2 separate regions of the Homo sapiens genome follow, and region 2 is linked to region 1. Evidence: promoter capture Hi-C in 16 types of primary human blood cells and fetal thymus (Javierre and others, 2016). All regions are on one chromosome and are shown on one strand. Each heading gives the region's core, a stretch centred on a gene start or on the middle of the fragment in contact. The rest is flanking DNA. Distances are from core to core; before and after follow the strand shown.

Region 1 (6,738 bases), core at 1,204-3,703:
AGGAGGCGGAGGTTGCAGTGAGCACAGATCTCGCCACTGCACTCCAGCCCAGGCAACAGAGTGAGACTCCGTCTCAAAAAAAAAAAAAAAAAAGTATCCCAAGCACAAAAAATACAGCATTGTTCCTTCCAAAACACCAAAGAATGAGTATCAGAAATGCAAAGTCCCCGGGAAAAACCCATGACTGAAATACTGAGGACTCTCCTAAGTCAGTTTCGACTTGCACTGTGTGACCTTGACCTAACATACAACTTAGTCACCAAACTCGGTGACCACCTAATAAAGATAATAACACTCATGTTTCTGTTTTTATGGGGGCATCTTAAGGATCAGCAATGGATCAGATGTCAAAGCACTCTGAGCTTCTTTGGAAGAAAGGCAATATCTCAACTGCATTATTACCATACTTTAAGTATGAAGTTTAAAACATGCATATACTCTCCAATCCAGCCTCGGCCCCTCAGTACTTTATCTTAAAAAAATAACCAAAAAATCGAGTCCTTAAAAATCCAGCAGCAGGGAATGGCTAATAAACTATGACACACCCATATAGCAGCATGTATTAGAAACTGTGCTATAGGCTTGGCGTGGTTGCCTGTAATCCCAGCACTTTGGGAGGCCTCGGCAGGCGGATCACTTGAGGTCAGGAGTTCGAGACCAGCCTGGCCAATATAGTGAAACCCCGTCTCTACCAAAAATACAAAAATTAGCCAGGCATGGTGACGGGCGCCTGTAATCCCAGCTACTCAGGAGGCTGAGGCAGGAGAATTGCCCGAACCTGGGAGGAGGAGGTTGCAGTGAGCCGAGATCGTGCCACTGCACTCCAGTCTGGGCGAAAGAGCCAGACTCTGTCTCAAAAAAAAAAAAAAAAAAAGAAAAGAAAAGGAAAAAAAAGAAAAGAAACTGTGCTATAATAATGGCTACCTTTAGGTGGTAATGACAGGAAAGGGGCTCAAAGGAGCCTTCTGGGATGATGGAAATTTTCAATATCTTCATTTGGCAATGGCGGCACAAGAGCAAACATATGAAATTTAAGATCTGCACATTACGCTGTATGTTTTTAATATTTTAAAAATTATATTGACAAAGATTAATCATTAATGATTTAAGATAATCCTTCTGATAGGAAAATAATGGATAAACACAAAATCAGCAGGGCAGAAAAACCATAGACACAGTAAGTCCTCAATTCCCTTTAAAAATGAACTCACAGCCGGGCGCGGTGGCTCAGACCTGTAATCCTAGCACTTTGGCAGGTTGAGGCGGGCGGATCACCTGAGGTCGGAAGATCGAGACCAGCCTGACCAACACGGAGAAACCTCGTCTCTACTAAAAACAAAATTAGCCAGGCGTGGTGGCGCATGCCCGTAATCCCAGCTACTCCGGAGGCTGAGGCAGGAGAATCGCTTGAACCCGGGAGGCAGAGGATGCGGTGAGCGGAGATCAGGCCATTGCACTCCAGCCTGGGCAACAAAAGCAAAACTCCGTCTCAAAAAAAAAAAAAAAAAAAAATGAACTCACAGGAAAAAAGAACGGGACGGCACCTACAAAATATTGAAAGCAGTGGAATTGCAAACGACTTAAAATATTATAAAAGCAATACAAAATTATTTTTAGCCCAAGCGCTGTAGCTCACGCCTGTAATTCCAGCACTTTGGGAGGCCGAGGAGGGAAGATGGCTTGAGGCCGGGAGTTCATGACCAACCTGGGCAACAGAGTGAGACCCAGTCTCTACAAAAATAAAAAAATTTTTTAAAAAATCATTACTACATCATAAAGACTCAACTAACAACCCTCCCTCAATGAAAAGGGGAGAAAAGCTGACAAAAGCTTAAAAAAAAAAGGACAAAAAATAAAAGCTAGTGGGAAAACCGAAGCTCTCAACGTGTATTTACTCAAATGACTAGAAGAAATACTGGCATATGGTGTAAGAGAACTCTTCCTACTTGGGAGCCTGGGAAAAGTGTGCCAGGTCAGCTAATTTGCGGTCTGACTTGGGGCACGACACGCCCCCTCTGAACCTCAGTTTCCCCATCTGTAAAACGTGTACGCTGCGCGGGATGTCGTCGAATGCCCCTTCCCGTCCAAAGCCTGCGCTTCTCGGTAGGAGAGGCAAGGAGCTCTCCGCCAGGGAGACGCGTCCGGGACGGTTCGCTGAGCGGAGCCGGCGCGTAAATCGGGGCTGCAGGGCCCGCAGGATACGGAGCGCGACCCCGACGCCCCTCCCCCAGCAGAGCTGCCGGCAGCTGGCTCCAGGCCCACTATTCCCTCACCTCGGGCTACTGCCCGGGGTCCGCGTGGCTCCAGGCCTGCCTCTCCGGCTCACCTCTCGGGAGACCAGGTCCTGCTCTAGCGGTTGCTTCGCGTGCGAAAGCGCCCCCGGGCTCGGCCCGGCCCCTCCAGATTCACCCCGGCTCAAGCCCGTGGGGCACCGAGAACAATGGACGGGAGAGGCCCGCCCACCGCCGCGCTCATTGGCTGCCGAGAACGGCCCTGGAAATTCTGCCTTTCTGTTGGTGGAGACGGCACCCAGCCGGGCGGCAGGAGGGAGGCTGGGCCCAAGGCATTGTGGGAGATGTAGTCCGCCCGGAGACGAACCTGACCGCGGTCCCCGGAGTAGGGTTTGGGGCTGACAGCCTGGGCAGTGCCTGCGGACCAGAGGCAGGAAAATCCGCAGACTGACCGTCAGAAACCCTGTGTTGGCTAGAGCTGTAACCCGAGACAAGCCGTTTCACTTATCTAAGGCCTCTGTATATTTGTCTATAAAAAGTGAAAGTTGGATGGCCGGACTTGAAGGACCTTTTCGGCTGCGAACCTTGTGGCAAGGAGTATTGTTAGGCACCCTCGACCGGCGAGAGCGGACCCTGGGCAGGAAGGGAATCCATGGGGGAACAAATCCTCATCGCCCAAGCCTGGCGCCTTTCCCCCAGTTTGCAGCTGTACACATGCACCCGGTCTTCGCACACCCCTTTGTTTTCGCACGTGGTATTCCTGTGTTTGGAGGAACGCCCTGCCCCGCCTCCTCTGCCGCGGAACTCCCATTCTTCCAGCTTCTCCTGGGTGGAGCCTGCCCTGTCATCACCACCTCCCCAGGCAGAGACACCGCCCCTAGTACACGTGTTGGACGTCCCCATTTTATTTTTTAAATATATATATGTATGTATTTGTATATATATATATATATTTATTTATACACACACACTCACAGACAGGATCTACATTTCATAGAGACAGGGTTTCCATATGTTGCCCAGGCTGACCTCGAACCCCTGGGCTCAAGCGATCCTTCCTCCTCAGCCTCCCAAAGTGCTGGAATTACAGGTGTGAGCCACCGCACCTGGCTGACGTCTCCATTTTAGTACTGATCACCGGGTTGCTTACTTGTCAATCTCAGTATGGGGGAAGGGAGGGTGCCCGGGTGTGGGAGGTTGGCCTCCATCTTTGTGTTTTACGGCTGGCGCTGTTGAAGAAACGGCTGCCCCAACCCTGCTTGAAAACAGGTGAGAAACTACCTGGAAACTCAAGCGGAAAATCTAAAAATGGAGAGAGACACCCTTAATGGTCTGTGATAGAATAGTTATGTATGTTTGCACTGAGCAATTACTGGAGGCACCTGCAATGAAATGACTGCTTTTTTTTTTCCTCCTCTGTCGCCCAGGCTGGAGTGCAGTGACACGATCTCGGATCAAGTGATTCTCCTGCCTCAGCCTCCCAAGTAGCTGGGATTACCGGCGTGCGCCACCACACCTGGCTAATTTTGCGTGTTTTTAGTAGAGACAGAGATTTCACCATGTTGATCAGGCTGGTCTTGAATTCCTGACCTCAGGTGATCCAGCCGTCTTGGCCTCCCAAAGTGCTGAGATTACAGGCATGAGCCACGTGCCCGGTCCTTTTCCCATTTTTAAATTGGATTTATTTGTAAGAGCTCTTTGTATATTAAGAAAATTATCCCTTTGTCACAGCAGTTGCTACTCTTTCTCAGTTTGCTGTTTGTTTTCTGCTGGTTTATTAAATATAGAAATTTGAAATTTTTTTGCAGTCAAATTTGTTAATCTTATCTTTTTATAGCCTGTGAGTTTTGTGTTAGAAAGTCCTCTGCACCACTCCAAAGATTATGTGAAATTCACCTGTTTTTCACTAATTAACCTCTTGAATCCAATTACAGAGATGCAAAGTGAAGTTCAGCTAGTGATTCTTATCCAATACCCTGGTAGCATCTTTATTATCCCAGACTGACCACATGCAAATAGCACCACCTCCAGGCCAGCCTGAGAAGTCTGCACTAAGCCCCTGGATGCAGAATTCTGGGCCACCACCCCTCCAAGTGATTTTTTTTGGGATGACATTGTATTAAAAAAGATGGGTTTCTCCATGTGTCCATCCTTACCAGGAATGGAAATTTACACAAAAAGGAAAAGATGCAGGGGAGGCTGGGGATGCACAGATGGAACTTTCCAGCAGCTCAAGCGTTTATTTACCTCTGTTCCTAACCCATGTCAACCCTTGACCACAGAACTGGCACTAGCTTGTCACTGGAGAGTCCTAAAGAAGCTGTCTCCTCTGTGTCTGATTCTGGGAAGCTGGTCCTTGCCAGTGTCAACTATCCTACATGAGACAGAGAGAAAGTCACATTTAAGACCAATTCATGGCATAATGATCCTACTGAGAAGGGCCCTGGTAGCCAAGCCAGTACCCTAAGACCAGCCTGCTACATCGAAGCAAGCCTGGAAACACAGCCAAGTTCAAGGTTGCTCCCCCAAGAGAGTCCTTTCTCCATTGGCCAAACCACAAGGGTGAGAGAGGCTCTGTTCCACCAGAAAGCATTCTTGGTTAAAAGCTTAAGAACTAATCTGGCTAACTTAAGTAAAAGGGACTTACTGAAAGACTGTCAGGGAACTGACAGAGTAGAAGGGAGCTGACGAATCAGGCTTGAGAACAGTTAGGAGCCAAGAGACAAAGAGGAAGTCCCCAAAAACCACAATAACAGTCTCTGAGCAGAAAAAGTTCAGCTTGCCTATCCCATGACCTCTGGTGGTACTACAGCCATCTCTGTTTCTCCGCCTTTCTCACACAAATTCTCCCATGCAAGGAAAGAGCATTTGGTTGGTTGAGTCTAAGTCACATGCACATTCCCTGGATGCAGCAGGGTGAGAGAGGATTGGATGTGGCTCCTAGATTTTCTTACTAATACCCCACACAAAGGCAGATTCTCCACTCTGGAGACTGAAGGCCTGTTAGGAAACACTGGACAGGCAGAAACAATATCACTACTTGTCTTTAGGCTCTGAGCAAGAAGGGACCTCACCCCAAGGAATGCTCAGCCTAAGGCATTTGGGGGCCCTTAGCTCATCTAGAGTTGATGAAAAATGATGTGGGTGGGAATGGGGAGAACTGCTCCATAACAGTTCTTTCCATAACAGTTTTGATTGGAGAGTTTAGTCCATTAACATTCAATGTTAGTATTGACTTATTCTTGCCATTTTGTTTTCTGGTTGCTGTGGTCTTCTCTTTCTTCTTTTCTTTCTGTCTTCCTTATTGTGAAGGTGATTTTCTCTGGTAGTATGATTTAATTTCTTGCTTTTTGTGTTTTGTGTATTTATTGCATATTTTTAAATTTGAGATTACCATGAGGCTTGGAAATACCATCTTATAACCCATTATTTAAACTGATGACAACTTTGCACTGCTTGCACAAAGGAACAAACAAATAAACAATGAAACAAATAAAAAGAAAACTAATAAAAACTCTATTTTAATTTGTCCTGCTTTTTAACTTTTTGCTATTTCTACTTACATCTTATTGCACTGTCTATGTCTTGAGAAGTTGTTGTACTTATTACTATTTTTGTTTGGTTCATCTTTTAGTCGTTCTACTTAAGAGTTGTTTGCACAATTGCCGTGTTATAATACTCTGTGTTTTTCTGTGTACTTACTATTACCAGTGAGTTTTGTAACTTCACATGATGTCTTATTGCTCATTAATGTCCTTTCGTTTCTGATTGAAGATGTCCCTTTAGCATTTCCTGTAGGATAGGTCTGGTGTTGATGAAATCCCTCAGCTTTTGTTTGTCTGGGAAAGTCTATTTCTCCTTCATGTTCAAAGGACATTTTCACTGGATATGTTATTCTAGGGTAAAAGTTTTTTCCTTCAGCTCTTAAAATATGTCATGCTGCTCTCTCCTGGCATGTAAGGTTTTCACAGAAAGTCTGCTGCCAGGCGTATTGGAGTCCCATTGTATGTTATTTGTTTCTTTTCTCTTGCTGCTTTAGGATCCTTTCTTTATCCTTGACCTTTGGGAGTTTGAGTATTAAATGTCTTCAGGTAGTCTTCTTTGGGTTAAATCTGCTTGGTGTTCTATAATCTTCTTGTACTTGAATATTTATAGCTTTCTCTAGGTTTGGAAAGTTCTCTGTTATTATCCCTTTGAATAAACTTTCTATTTCTCTGTTTCCTCTTTAAGGCCAATAACTCTTGGCTTTGCCCTTCTGAGGCTGTTTTCTAGATTTCGTGGGCATGCTTCATTAAAAAAAAATTTTTTTTGTCTTCTCTAACTGTATATTTTCAAATAGCTTGTCTTCAAGCTCACTAATTTTTTCTTCTGCTTGATCAATTCCACAATTAAGAGACTGATGCATTCTTCATTATGTCAATTGCATTTTTCAACTCCAGAATTTCTGCTTGATTCTTTTTATTTCAATCTCATTGTTAAATTTATCTTATAGAATTCTGAATCCTTT
Region 2 (6,171 bases), core at 1,687-4,186, 36 kb before region 1:
CAGCCATAATCCGGTACACCTGGTGGTTTCGATGGCAGGTGCGGAGTTTTTCGTGGATCCAGGCCTCTGAGAATTCCCAGAAAAATCTTGGTTTCTTTGTATCCCCAGTGCACTCCTGCCACCTTCTCATCCTCCAGGGCCTGCCACTCCAGCTCGCTCCAGGTCTTGGCTTTTCTCCAGATTAGCACCTGGCCAGACTTGACTCTCACCCCAGCCACTGAGCAGTCTTTCACACTCTCTTTTTCTCCAGAATTTGAAGATCTAGATGCTGTGGGTTTTCATCCTACTCCACGTGGGAGTTCACTTTGGGCCTATGGATTGGAAAATCTGTTTGCAGGCAGACAAAAGGGAGATGTAATGGTTTGGTAAATCTAATCCCAACCATTTTATATGCCAGGGAGAGGAGATAGTAATTTTTTTTTTTTAATTCTGGGGGGATTCTTGGGAAAGCTCAGTGAAAAGAACAACTAGAAAAAAAAATTCAGGCCCAAATGCATAACTATATATCCACGTTCATCTATCTTAAATAAAATTCAGACACATACCTAAACTGACCATCTCCCTAAAATGAGCTTTCCTTTCTGGGTCAAGAAATTCATCCTTGGTGAAACTGACTATGGTATTGGATTTCCTTTGAGTAAGATTTAAGGAAGAAATAGATTTGAAATATTCAACCCAGGGGGAAAGGGTGGGAGCAGGGGGGTGAGGGATAAAAGACTACACACTGGGTACAGACTGAGGGGATAAAAGACTGCACACTGGGGCCCCGTGGTGGCTCAGGCCTGTAATCCCAGCACTTTGGGAGGCCGAGGCAGGCAGATTACTTAAGGTCAGGAGTTCAAGACCAGCCTGGCCAACATGGTGAAACCCCATCTCTGCCAAAAAAAAAAAAAAAAAATACAAAAATTAGCTGGGCGTGGTGGCACATCTCTGTAATCCCAGCGACTCAGGAGGCTGAGGCAGGAGAATCACTTGAACCCGGGAGGCAGATGTTGCAGTGAGTCAAGATCATACCACTCCACTCCAGCCTGGGTGATAGAATGAGACTCAGTCTCAAAAAAAAAAAAAAGAAAAAAACAAAGACTACACATTGGGTACAGACTTGATGGATAAAAAAGACTACCCTTGGGTGATGGGTGCACCAAAATCTCAGAAATCACCACTGAAGAACTTTTCCATGCAACCAAACACTACTTGTTCCCCAAACACTACTGAAATAAAAGTTTAAAAAAAATACGTAAGAACAGACATAGGGAAAAAGAAAAAAAATTCAACTTGAAAAAGGTCTGGAGTAGTGAATACTACAGAAACTCCATAGCTAACTTTGACTATGAAAAAAAAAAAAAGGCATTCTTACCCAGCGTGACCTCATTTTCAGAATTCTGCTGAGTTATTTCTAGGTGGTTCTTCAGTCCAGGTTCTGGATCCCTCCATGCCTCCTAGGAGATATACACAGCCGAATCACCAGGTGTCACTAGCTCCTGAGGAAACAACACCCCTTCTCAAAACACATGGCCTCAGAACAAAATGCCTCTCTAATGCCTGAGTCAGGGCAAGTGACACAACAGAAGAAATGAAACAGTGATTATTTTGGCTTTTAAATGCAATCAAGCGGGCAGGAGGAGACAGAAAAGAAACAAGCTGACATTATGCACTGAGCCAGAAGCTTCTCAGACTTGCCCAGAGTTACACAGCAAGTCCAGGGTATGGCTGGGAATTCAACTCAAGGCTGTTGGACTCTGAAGCTTTTGGTTTTTGTTTTTTTTCCTCCACTACACAGTACTGCATGCCATGTGAGCAAGATCCCGACACAGAATGAAGTAACCAGTATCTTTAAGGCAAACAAGCAGATCAGTAGAATCTGATGATTTCAGGGTCAAAGAAAAGAATAATTTTAATGCAATCCCTCATTACCACAGCCATGGCACTGGCCTCATATGGGTAAGGAGATTTGGGCAACCTTTTGCAGGCTGATGAAATTTTGGAGCCTAAATTGTAAAGTTACTGGGCCTCCCTGCTGGGTAAAATTCTTTTGGAATTTCTGAGCGGCAAGAGAGTTGGTTGCAGGAGCCCCACTTGGGTAGTAAAAGGTGACCTGAGGGGGATTGGGGGCTAGGGGAGGGAGAGCATTAGGAGAAATACCTAATGTAGACGATGGGTTGGTGGGTGCAGCAAACCACCATGGCACGTGTGTACCTATGTAACAAACCTGCATGTTCTGCACATGTACCCCAGAACTTAAAGTATAATAAAAAGAGAAAATTTAAAAAAAAAGAAATATAATCTGTAAAGACAAATGACTTAATCGTTTTCCCAAAAGGAGAAAACTGAGCTGTGCCTCAAGAGTTATATTTCTATTAAAAAAAAAAGAGAGAGAGAAAAGGTGATCTATATAAGAGAAATGGCTGACTCACCTGGGAGCTGCTCACTATCTCCTGGCCACCCCTGCTCTTCTCTGCAGGAATTCCCAGAGCCACATCAGGCAGGGCTGGGGGAAGAAAAGGGAGGCATTAGAGTACATGGCTCTCAGCTCCTCTTGGGGACTAGCCCAACTGGGTTCAGACACAGAACAGCCTTTCCTCCCCCTCTTAGTATCTGCTTTGTCCTATCAAAGGAAGGTTGGTGAAAAACCAAAATGAAACATTTCTTTTTTTTTTTTTTTTTGAGACGGAGTCTCACTCTGTCGCCCAGGCTGGAGTGCAGTGGCACAATCTCAGCTCACTGCAAGCTCCGCCTCCCAGGTTCAGGCCATTCTCCTGCCTCAGCCTCCTGAGTAGCTGGGACTACAGGTGCCCACCACCACACCCGGCTAATTTTTTGTATTTTTAGTAGAGACGGGGTTTCACTGTGTTAGCCAGGATGGTCTCGATCTCCTGACCTCATGATCCGCCCGCCTCTGCCTCCCAAAGTGCTGGGATTACAGGCGTGAGCCACCATGCCCAGCCAAAATGAAACGTTTCTAAAATGAAAGTTTTAGGTTTTCCCCTCCATATCCATCTAGGTACTGACTGTCAGGGTTTTATGATTTTGTTTTTCAGGTTTTTTGTTTGCTTTTTGTTTTTTTGAGACAGGGCCTCGATCTGTCGCCCAGGCTGGAGTGCAGTGGCGTGACCTTGGCTTACCGCAGCCTTAACCTCCTGGGCTCAGGTGATCCTCCCACCTCAGCCTTCTGAGTAGCTGGGACTACAGGTGCCTGCCACCATGCCCGGCTAATTTTTTTTTTTTTTTTTTTTGTATTTTTAGAGGAGACGGAGTTTCACCATATTGCCCAGGCTCATCTCTGAACTCCTGGGCTCAAGCAATCCACCCACCTCAGCCTCCAAAGTACTGGAATTACAGGCATGAGCCACCATAACTGGCCTTGTTTTTCAGTTTTGATAACACACCTGAGTCATCTAAATTGGTCTGGGGACACTTAACTGTTTTAAGGATTACTGCACCTTAGTTTAACCCTACCCTTTTGCCCTTCCCACCAACCAGACCTAAAATCTGTCTCCAACTGTAACCTATTGGGACCGGTAATCTCTGACTCACATAAGGAAAGGTGCTACAGGCTCCCCTATGTTGTTTTACAAAACATGCCAACCGAGGTCCTTCTTCACTTTGGAGGTGCCCATTTAGGATCCCAGAAATTCATGCGGTCAGCCTGAGGTCAACACACCAATCTTCTAAGTAGAAGGGAGCTGTACCTTCTACCCCACTTTCTGCACTCACAGAGTACTTCTATGCCCTCCCCACAGAAGGGTACTTCCTTCCTCCCCACACTGCTGCTACTTTTTTTTTTTTTAAATCTGATTTTGCACTTTTTTTTTTTTCTAAGCTAAACATCTTTCAGTACAGGTAAGAAGACTGGCATCACATCTGGGAAGTGCCTTAACAGATATCTGAGGAGTTACTGCACATTAAGTCGGTAACAACACACTTCGGTTTCAAGGCGTATGTAATCTTCCCTTGATGCTCTTCAACAGAGACAAGGTTCCTGTCTGTAGATCAAATAAATCACAGTATTAGGAAAAAAAATAACAGCAAATTTGGAAGTACAATCAACTTAAGGAGAAGCAAAGGAAAAGACTTAGAAATGGGACATTATTGTCTACATCTAGAGGATACATGTATCTGAAAGCTTAAGAAAGCCCTTATCTTAGGAACTTGAAGCTGAGGATAATCTCAAGTTCACTTAGTGCCAGTCACTTTAGTTTTTAAAAAAATTTAACTTAAACCCCAGCCTAGGCAACATGGTGAAACCCAGTCTCTACTAAAAATACAAAAATTAGCCAGGCATGGTGGTATGTGCCTGTAGTCCCAGCTAGTTGTGAGGCTGAGGCGGGAGGATTGCTTGAACCTGGGAGACAGTGGGGTTGCAGTGAGCTGAGAATGCACCACTGCACTCCAGCCTGGGTAACAGAGCAAGACTCAAAAAAAAAAAAAAAATTAAACTCTTCTTATTGTGTCTTTTTCCTTGTAAGACATTAACTAAAAGTTACTGGTAGTAAATGGTGACTGTTTTACAATTGGGTTTCATTATTGACAATATCAAAAAAAAGCAGCAATCTTTAAGAGTTCAAATTAGTGTAAGATAGGAAGGACTGCAAAACAATCTGATTTTTCAGTTGTAATTAAAGTGCTCCTTTTCTTATTTTAAGTAAAATAAAATTAATCAGTCACTGGCAACAATCATTATTAAGAGGTCTTTTAGGGCAAAATTTAATAGTATGAAGAGGTTTACAAAAATAGATTGACGTTATTTTGAGAAATACTGTAATTTTTTCTCAATTCAGTTTTGATAAATTGTACCTAATCATAGAAAAATTATTCCAATTCAAACTTGACATATATTAAAAAAGTAGAGATGAAATTAACTCAGCTACGTAACAGATCTGGCAAAATATAAGAATGAAAAAAATTCTACACAGGGCACTTATTTCATATCCAGAGGTAAAAACATTTTCTATTAGTAGCTTATCTTCTTCCTGTAAGCAATCACAGATTCTAAGTTGATCATGCGGTACAAAGTCACAGCAGTCAGAATCTTCTGTTTGATGCAACACACAAAGTTGTTTGTTTCCTTACTAAAATGCGAACTGGTTGTCTATTTTTCTTTATCCCATTTATTCGTATTCACAAATTAACAAATAGCGTCAACAATTATTGTAGGTGAAGTGGGGTATTGCTGGATCAAAGGCTCTATAAGACGTCTTTACTGACTGAATCTGAAGGTTTATTGAGTTCAATCCTCACACCTTTTTCACCTGTTAGATATTTTACTTTAGCTCGTGCTCTCTCATCTGCATCAAATACCAAACAGTTATTGCGTACTTTGTAGCATATGCTGGTTGTACTTCATGAGGGTTGCGATGGTCAGACCAGAAAAACAGCAGTCTATCAAATTTGGGTTCAATGTCAGCAAACTAGGCTTTACCTTCTAGAAAAATTCGAAGTATACCTCCACTTACCTTGGCATCCCGTTCTTTAACGTAATGTAATACATTTCACACGTCTTCCGTCTCCATTTGGATTATCAACATGACGTACATAACCCGTTCCATTGACCGGATAACAAGCAGCCATGGCTTTTGTCCGGCCCGGGGACGCGCGAGGCGGGGACGCGGCCGCCGCGGGGTCGGCCGCGGACTTGGCCTTTGCCTTGGCTGCGTCCCCGGAGGCGCTGTCCCGGCGCCTCGCTGCCTTCCTGGCCTCCAGGGCCCGGTCCCTGGACGGCGGCGCTGCAGCGGGCGGCGCGGGGCCGGAGTCCTGGTGAGGGCCCCCTCCGTGGCCGAGGGCGCCCTCGCTGCCCTGGCACACGAGCTTGTGCTTCTTCCAGTCCTGGCGCTGGCGCTCCTTGCAGCAGAAGGAGCTGCGGCTGCAGCGCAGCAGGTTCTCCATCTTCCCGCACAGCTCGCAGTACTGCCGGTCTCGCTCGCTCGAGCTCGGCTCGCCGGGCCCGCAGCTGTCATTGGCCATGGCGACCGCAGCTGAGCAGGAGGGGTGCGGCCGGACGGCCTCGCCCGAGGCTGGGGAGCGGAGAGAGAGATAGGGGCCGTCACTGCGCCATGCACCCGCTACCCTTGACTCAAGGAGGCTGGCACCCAGGGCCCTCGGCCGGGTCGCTTCCGAGTCCTAGGCTCCGGCGCAGCGCAGGCGGCCGCCTCAGCGCCTAATCGCCGCCGTGGG

Evidence for each region. Contacts are between HindIII fragments. The CHiCAGO score rates a contact against its expected background, and 5 or more counts as called.
Region 2: a fragment that was not itself captured here is called in contact with the fragment with the promoter of ZSCAN2 in region 1 in 1 of 17 cell types (naive CD4 T cells); the score reaches 6.1 in naive CD4 T cells.

The regions. Positions count from the first base shown.
Region 1 is chr15:84,596,724-84,603,461 of GRCh38, reverse strand. ZSCAN2 (zinc finger and SCAN domain containing 2) reads right to left here and starts at 2,453. Exons shown (of 3, transcript NM_181877.4): 1 at 2,327-2,453. LOC105370947 (a long non-coding RNA gene) reads left to right here. Exons shown (of 4, transcript NR_186225.1): 4 at 3,659-4,028. RefSeq lists enhancers at 1-38, 2,556-2,605 and a silencer at 2,086-2,235. The HindIII fragment of the contact is 3,007 bases long and covers 1,833-4,839 here.
Region 2 is chr15:84,633,664-84,639,834 of GRCh38, reverse strand. It overlaps WDR73 (WD repeat domain 73), which reads left to right. Exons shown (of 8, transcript NM_032856.5): 8 at 1-550. It also overlaps the pseudogene SCAND2P and the pseudogene EGLN1P1. Among named protein-coding and RNA genes, the nearest start is that of WDR73, 18 kb to the left of the region's middle. RefSeq lists silencers at 5,548-5,627, 6,098-6,171. The HindIII fragment of the contact is 2,378 bases long and covers 1,748-4,125 here.